Linked DNA regions of Homo sapiens: region 1 is linked to region 2. The links are contacts of gene promoters, found by promoter capture Hi-C in human tissues and cell types (Jung and others, 2019). All regions are on one chromosome and are shown on one strand. The core of a region is centred on a gene start or on the middle of the fragment in contact, and the rest is flanking DNA. Distances in the headings are between cores, read along the strand shown.

Region 1 (3,940 bases), core at 460-2,959, 780 kb before region 2:
TCAAAAATTAGCTGGGCATGATGGCACATGCTTGTAATCCCAGCTACTTGGGAGGCTGAGTCAGGAAAATCACTTGAACCAGGAGGTGGAGGTTGCAGTAAGCCGAGATTGCACCACTGCACTTCAGCCTGGGCGACAGAGCGAGACTCTCCCTCAGGAAAAAAAAAACAAAAAACAAAAAAACCCCACAAAGTGTATCCTTAATCAAGCCTAGAAGGTAACATCCACCCTTTCCTATATAGGACATATCCTTTGTGTACCAATGACAAAGTCTCTCCAGCTGGAGAGTTCTTAACAGCTGTACTTTGACAAACCAGAAAGGTGCATCACAAGTAACTTGTTACTGATTAACATTAAATTTATTTATTTAAAACTATGAATAATTTGTTTTCTAAATTAAAACAGTTTTAAGTTTCCAGAAGAGAACTCTCTTTATTGTATTTGAGACAGGGTCTCACTCTGTTGCCTAGGCTAGAGTGCAGTAGTGCAATCACAGCTCAGTGCAGCCTCAGCCTCCTGGGTTCGAGAGATCTTGCCACCTTGGCCTCCAGAGTCGCTGGAACCACAGGTGCACACCATTATGCCGGCTAATTTTTGTATTTTTTGTAGCAATGGGGTCTCACTATATTGCCTAGGCTGGTCTCAAACTCCTGGACTCGAGTGATCATGATCCTTCCACCTTGGCCTCCCAAAGTGTTGGGATTATGGGCACGAGCCACCGCATTTGGCTTGAAGAGTACTCTCATTTATACTTCTGATAAGCTTTCTGATGGAAAAGAAAGGCATTTTTAGGCACGAAGCACGAAATGGACAGCACCTTGGGTATACTTTCAGGGACATGAAAAAATGTAATTATTACTTATATGCATCATAGAAGAAAAAATAAGCTTTATAATAGTTGGTTTGGAAAACTAGAGCGAACACAGCATTTCTTATGGATGATGGGAGAAGATGGAATTAACACCAGGCTGATATTAGTTGACAACAAATATCAGAGTGCTTGCTCTGTGCTCTAGTTAATTTGTCAGATTTCACAGGGATTTTTGGTACAAGAAAGCTTTGTGGAATATATGCATTCTATGCGCCAGGCTTAGTGCAAGGTATTATTAGAGAAAAAAGACTTAAAATAGAAGGTACTCTATAGCTATATTAGATCAGGTCAGCACTTGGGAAAGTTAGCTTATAGACCCAGTTTTGCCATTAAATACAGAACTTCATAAAGTTCTATGGCTTCTCTGGGCCTCAGCTTCTTCATCAATAAAATGGGCAGAGGTGAACCAGACGACCTCTAAGGTTCCTTTAGATTCTAAAATGATGTAATTTTTAAAACCTTTGAAATGTTTATTCAGGTCTTCTCTCCTTGAGGTGTTCTTGGGACCGGAGATATTCCATTTGAAACCCTGAGACAACCATACCTCAAGCTCAGAGTGCTTAAGAATTTTCTGCCAGGTGCGGTGGCTCACACCAGTAATCCCAGCATTTGGGGAGGCCAAGGCGGGCGGATCATGAGGTCAGGAGATCGAGACCATCCTGGCTAACACGGTGAAACCCTGCCTCTACTAAAAATACAAAAAAATTAGCCAGTGCAGGCCGGGCGCGGTGGCTCACGCCTGTAATCCCAGCAGTTTGGGAGGCCAAGGCGGGCGGATCACGAAGTCAGGAGATCGAGACCATCCTGGCTAACATGGTGAAACCCCGTCTCTACTAAAAATACAAAAAATTAGCCGGGCGTGGTGGCGGGTGCCTATAGTCCCAGCTACTTGGGAGGCTGAGGCAGGAGAATGGTGTGAACCCGGGAGGCGAAGCTTGCAGTAAGCCGAGATCGCGCCACTGTACTCCAGCCTGGGCGATAGAGCGAGACTCTGTCTCACAAAAAAAAAAAAAAAAAAATTAGCCGGTGTGGTGGCGGGCGCCTGTAGTCCCAGCTACTCGGGAGGCTGAGTCAGGATAATGGCGTGAACCTGGGAGGCAGAGCTTGTAGTGAGCCGAGATCGCGCCACTGTACTCCAGCCTAGGCGACAGAGCGGGACTCCATCTCAGAAAAAAAAAGAAAAAAAGAATTTCCCAAAAGAAGGTATCCTTTAGGTTTTCATCCCTATGCCCCAGTCTGGAATCTCTACACACAGAATTGTGGACAGACTTATAGTCCAGATTGACAATGGCTAGTGATAGATACACTTTATTGTTGCCACTGGCATCAAATTTAAAAGCTTAGGCTGGCAAGCAAGGCCTCTCATTAAACAACCTTCCTTACCTCGTCTGTCCCTATCCGATAAAGCCCTTACTTTTCAGCTGAGTTGGTCACATCCATTTTCCCCTTCCTGTCTCTGTTCTTGCTGGTCCCTCCATCTGGATGGGCAGGGAAGGAAGAATAATGCATATCCGTTATTTCCTTCAAGACCAAGCCCTGTCTTACTTTATGTTTCAACAGCCATGAACACAAGGGATTTCTAGAATTCTACACTACCATACACTATGTTCCCCTGCTTCCTCATGGAGGTTCCTCTATTCTCCACAATTAGACTCTAAAGACGTGGTATTGAGTGGGCACTGACTGAAAGCTTATCTAGTTTATGAGTGGAGTGGAATCTCAGAAGGTAGAAGAATTAAAGGTTCAGGCCTCTCCTACCTTTATCCTGTATCAATCCCAAAACTCTTCTTTCTCCTCCATTATCTTTCCTGTCTATATAACTCCTTATCTTCAAGCTTAATGTAAGGGCAATTCCAGGCATGAAAAGACAACACAGTTTGTACTTTTGGTTTCATATTTTTTCAGTTAATTTCAGTAAAAACATAATATATAAAAGGCATTGCCACCATTTTCCCCTCCTGGGGGTGATCCATCAAGCCAGTGTGGGCTGCTCCAGTGGTTCATAGCTCATCATGCGATATGTGCAGGGCATGGTCACAAAGATCTGCAAATGGCAAACAATTTAAAGGAATATGCCATTCTCATACTGATATCTGCCAGTATCAAGAAAATTTCCCAGACCAAGCTGACACAAACACACACCAACCACCATTCTGCAGAATATATGCTTATAAATGATAAAACATCCCCACTGTCCTCTCACCTGTATCTCAGGGTCAAGGGGACACAAATTCTGAAAGCTGACAGAAAATGTGGAGGAACACCCCAAGTCCCTAAGCCAAGGGAAATGGAAGACAGCTCTTGACCTAATACCAGAGGTTTCTGGGATGGGGGTGTATGGGTGAGTTAGGGAATGTCAGGTTCCACAGAGCTACTAGAACAGGAGATAAAGTGGGGGCAGCTTACCTGTTCGCTTACTGCAAAGTTTGTCTTTAACATTGTCAGCCTCTCGGGAAAAGAATTCAATGAGTTCATCCTCGTATTCCTCCACAATGCTCTCACACTGCCAACCCAAGGGAGAAATGGGTGACACAGGGCAATAAGAGGCCTCTTGCCTTCACTTCCAAAGAGGAGGACAAGGATATCAGCCTAACTTTCTAATTGGTTCTCCAACAACCCCTTAATGTCCAAGAACCAGCTACCGATTCCCATAGCTCACCGCAAACTTGAGGGTGCCGCTAATATCTGAGTCGATTCGGATGCCTTGTAGGTCCAGTTCACTGGATTCTCCATTCCGGCCCACTACACGTACGTAGTTCTTGCGATGGGTGGAAGGATCAATCTGTTCCCCATACTCCTTCATCCGGTCACATATCTCCTCCAGCAGCTCTGTGAGGTGGGCCTCTGAGCGGGCATAAGGCACCTAGAAATGTCCTCAGCCTTGGGTCACTCTCTTCTACCTCTGTACATTAGTAATTTATATCCTTACTTTTCTTTCCAAATCTAGCTCCAACAACCTATTCTAAAAAGCTTTCCCTAATTGATTTTAATTAGTTTTGTTTGTTTGTTTGTTTTTTGAGATGGGGTTTTGCTCTTGTTGCCCAGGCTGGAGTGCATTGGCGCCATCTC
Region 2 (4,026 bases), core at 1,145-3,644:
GCTGCGGGGGCGCTCTGGGCCTCTGGCGGGCCCTGACAAGTCAATGATTTTTTAAATAGGGGCTCATACACAAACCTAGAGAGAGAGAGGAACACAGATATACAAGTGGATATAAAGAAACATATAAATACATAATCTCGGGTACAGAGACACAAACTGGCAGTAGCGTCTTAAATATGCTTAGCATTCTACAATTTAGAGAGTTTTCCCGTACATTCTCTCATCCGAATCTCACGACAATCTTGAGAAACAAGGGCACAAAGACACAAACACCCGGTAGTTTCACTCTCACACACGGGTTCGCACCCGGACCCCCGCTGGCTCCCCTAGGGGAGTGGGCAGGCCCCTTCTGCGGAATTTCTCTTCCCTCGTCCCTCTCTGGCCGAGCACCCCCTCTCCCAGGACCCGGGAGCGGAGAGCTCAAAATCGGCTCCTCCCTCCCCCTCTTTCCCGGATCAGGACCGGGACCCGGGCGCCCCGCGCCCAGTAGGTTGCCGCTCACTTGCTCACGCCCTACTCCGCCTCCTCCTTGGGCGGGCGTCTCCCTCCAGATCCTAAGGCTCAGCGCCGCCCCAAGGGGGCCGGGGTGGGAGGGAGGGGGGCGCCTCGAGCAGAGGCTGCGTGGGCGGAGGATGTGCGTCACGGGGAGCGTGGGCTGGGGGAGGGAGGGGGCACGTGGAAACCCGGGGCCAGCGGCTGGCAGCCCGGGATCCAAAATAACCTGAGGTGGGGGGGGAGGGGTCGCCCACACCCCGTACGGGGTCGGGAGCGTCCCCAGGGGAGCCCGTCTAGCCGCACCCTCCAGTTGCGGGGCGGGGGACTGGGAGACGGGACTCTGCTCGTTCCCACCACCCCCACTGTGTTTGGCGCTTAATAGGTTGGAGAAGAGGACCTGAGCAACTGAAATCCTCCCACCAACAACGCGCTCCTTCTCCCCGGACCCCACAAGGCGGAAAGGTCTCCTCGCTAGGCCACATTGTAAAACCAGCCCCGGTCCACGGCCTCCACGCCCCGCCATGCCCCACCCCAGCCCCTCAGAAGTGCGGACAGAGAGGCGGGGCGGGGCTGAGATTCCGGACTAGGGGAAACCTCACCTGTGGCCAGTCCGCTCGCTTTCCCCGGCCCCCACCCCCCCTCCTTTCCCTGGGGCTTAGAGTCTATGGGCCGGGCCCTTAGAGCCCCCGCCTCCCCCAACAGCCCTCCCAGCCGTGGGCGGGAGTGCAATGCGAACCAGATGGGGCTAGGAGAAACCAAAGGGGGAGACGGTGGTGGGTTGCAGAGGCGGGGGCTAAGCTCCTTCAAGGCGCTCCTCCTTCCAGCTCCGCCGCAGGAAGTCACGTCGTAGGCTCCCGACCTCTTACTCATCTTCCACTAGACTCTCGGGCGAGGTCCCTAATAGACGGCCCCAGGAAGGGTATCGTCTTTGTCACACAAAATTCCCAGGCAGGGCCTCATCCTCAGCAAACAGAGGACAAGTGGAGGAATCCCTGCCTGACCTACGCGCTGACAAAAGCCGACGCGTCTAATCAACACGCGCACCTAAGTGGTGGCGTGCAGCATAACCCTCCCATTCCTGTTTCCCAAACTTTCCAGGCTAGCATGGAGGCCTGGGTTTCTGAGAGCGACCCCCTCAGATTATTCCATTGGGGCTGAGGAGGGGCGCGGGGATATCTAGGAGATCCCTGCAGAGCCCCACGCTCTCAGGCCCGCCTTAAGTGCACACTATACGGGAGTCAGATGCACGCACAGGAGAAGCCGCACAGCCCAGCCTTCGCTAACTTTTCCCGGCTCACTGCTAACATTCACACGTCCAGCACCACAAGGCCTGAGTATGGGCAACGGGCGTCCCCGTAGTTGTTTAGGCGCGTGTGCACGTCCGTGCGCTTCTGTGTCTTTGTGTACTTGTGCGTGGTTGTGAAACTCCTCTCTCAGCTCGGAGGGGTGGGGGAGAGAAGGAATGTCGCCGGCGGGGCGCTCACGTGGGTACGTGGGCGCCAAGAGGGCCGGCTGTGCATCCGGCGTGGGCGGCACAGAACGACCTCGCCCCGCCCGCTGGGTCCCCAAGCCCGCCCTGCACAGCCGGGCCTCGGTCACCTCGGTCCCCAATTCGGCGCCCCGGCTCTGAATCCCCGCCCCCGCCTCCTGCTCCACACCCCCTCCCCCCCCGTCTCCGCCTCTCCCAGTCTCTAAGCCGCGGCGTCTCCGCGGCCGAGAGGCCCCAGCGCCCGCCTCCCCGGCCCCCGCCCCCACCCCCGCCCCCGGCTCTGCCCACGCCCTCCGCCCGCCAGCCCGGCAGCCAGCGCAGCTCCGGGCCTCGCTCCCTGTGCGTCCTGCGGGGGCGGAGGCGCGGAGAGGCGGCAAGCGCAGCCGGGGAGGGTGGGGGGGCAGAGGCACAGACAGAGGCGCGGAGGCTCGGAGAGAGAAGACGTGGAGGGAGGGACAGAGCCTGGACAGCGGTGGACACGGCATCGTGCGCGGGGAAGAGGGCAGCACGCAGCAGGCGCCGAGCGCCGGGCACCGAGAAGGGCAGCCCGGGTGATCTCCGGCCGTCCATGCACAGAGCGCCTTCCCCCACAGCCGAGCAGCCGCCGGGCGGAGGGGACAGCGCCCGCCGGACCCTGCAGCCCAGACTCAAGTTAGTGGGCAAAGGGAGGCAGCGGGGAGTGGAGATGGGTGGAGCTGGACTTGGGAATGGGGTCCAGAGGGCGGAGGTCGAGGGGAGGACGTGGGGAAGCAGGACGGGGGTGGGGGGTGGAGACTGATGGAAAAGGGGGTGCGTCTTCGAATTAGGGGGCCCTGGGAGCAGGCAAGCATCTGATGAAGCTGGATATGAAAGAGTAGTACCCAAATCTCCATTCCTGGTTTACTCTGTGGGCTCCATCTGGCCTAAGAGCCCCCTGCAAAGAATGTGGGAGCCTCCAAGCACCAGGGGATGCCCTGGAGCTCGAGCTGGCATCAGTGCGGAAGGTGGGGGGACGCTCAGTTGCCTCAGTCCCTCGTTGGCACGGAGCGCGCGGGCCCCCGGTGCCTTTGAGTTAAAGGAGCATCAGCGGGGGAAAGGGGGGGTGACGAGGGAGGCAGGGAGGCCTTAGGCGTTCCTTCCCATATCTGTCCCTTTATTCACAGAGCGGGGAGGGGAGTTTCAGTGTGCAGCCCCTTCATCAAGAGGCCTTGAGCCGCTCCCCCACTCCACTTGAAGATGCGGGTGGAAAATATGGGAGAGGAGAGTAGGCGGGAGCCCCTGGGCGGTTTTCGCCTACAGACGCTACCACTGTGGGAGTGTGTGTGGGCGGAACGGCCCCGGAGCAGAACAATTGCGCCCCTCCCCCTGCCACGGCCCCTGAGCTGAAGGAAAAGGCTGACCGAGGAAGTGGGGAGTGTCACTGCTAGGAGAGGGGCCACTGAGGAGCACTGGGCAGCCTGGAAGGGTGGAGAGGTTCTGAGGGGAGAGAGGAAGCGTGCGTTAAGAATGCTTAACCAGGCCGGGCGGGCCCGGTGGCTCAGGCCTGTAATCCCAGCACTTTGGGAGGCTGAGGCGGGTGGATCACGAGGTCAGGAATTCGAGCCCAGCCTGACCAACATGGTGAAACCCCGTTTCTACTAAAAATACAAAAATTAGCCGGGCATGGTGGCGGGCGCCTGTAATCTCAGCTACTCAGGAGGCTGAGGCAGGAGAATCGCTTGAACCCGGGAGGCGGAGGTTGCAGTGACAGCGCCACTGCACTCCAGCCTGGGTGACAGAGCGAGACTCCGTCTCAAATAAATAAATAAATAAATAAATAAATAAATGCTTAACCCCTGGGAAAAGCTGAGCGGAGAAGAGTAAGGCACCACCTGGCTCACTGAGTGGGAAAGCCAGGGAAGGTGCCACACCCTCCCTTTTAGCCACCTGGGGCTGTGGCCCCTTCACAGGGAATGAAGCTGGCCAGCAGCGTCCACTGTGGGGGAGACTGGGCTCCTACATTCACTTTAGTATGGGTGACTTCACTTCAGTGTTGAGACTGCTGAGTGTTTAGAGGGGAAGGT

Evidence for each region. The method cuts DNA at HindIII sites, captures the fragments that hold promoters and counts their contacts. A contact is called where the count stands out against the background at its distance.
Region 1: a contact is called between a fragment that was not itself captured here and the fragment with the promoter of NAB2 in region 2, in 1 of the 25 tissues and cell types used here (dorsolateral prefrontal cortex).

What each region holds. Positions count from the first base shown.
Region 1 is chr12:56,307,681-56,311,620 of GRCh38, forward strand. CNPY2 (canopy FGF signaling regulator 2) reads right to left here. Exons shown (of 6, transcript NM_014255.7): 4 at 3,531-3,734; 5 at 3,278-3,374; 6 at 2,164-2,915. The coding sequence ends at 2,872. CNPY2-AS1 (CNPY2 antisense RNA 1) reads left to right here and starts at 3,734. Exons shown (of 2, transcript XR_002957416.2): 1 at 3,734-3,940. The HindIII fragment of the contact is 3,127 bases long and covers 147-3,273 here.
Region 2 is chr12:57,086,720-57,090,745 of GRCh38, forward strand. It overlaps NAB2 (NGFI-A binding protein 2), which reads left to right and starts at 2,395. Exons shown (of 7, transcript NM_005967.4): 1 at 2,395-2,635. The coding sequence starts at 2,553. It also overlaps a transcript of NEMP1 not described here. RefSeq lists silencers at 597-746, 927-986, 1,987-2,606 and an enhancer at 1,667-1,716. The HindIII fragment of the contact is 6,684 bases long and covers 1-3,764 here.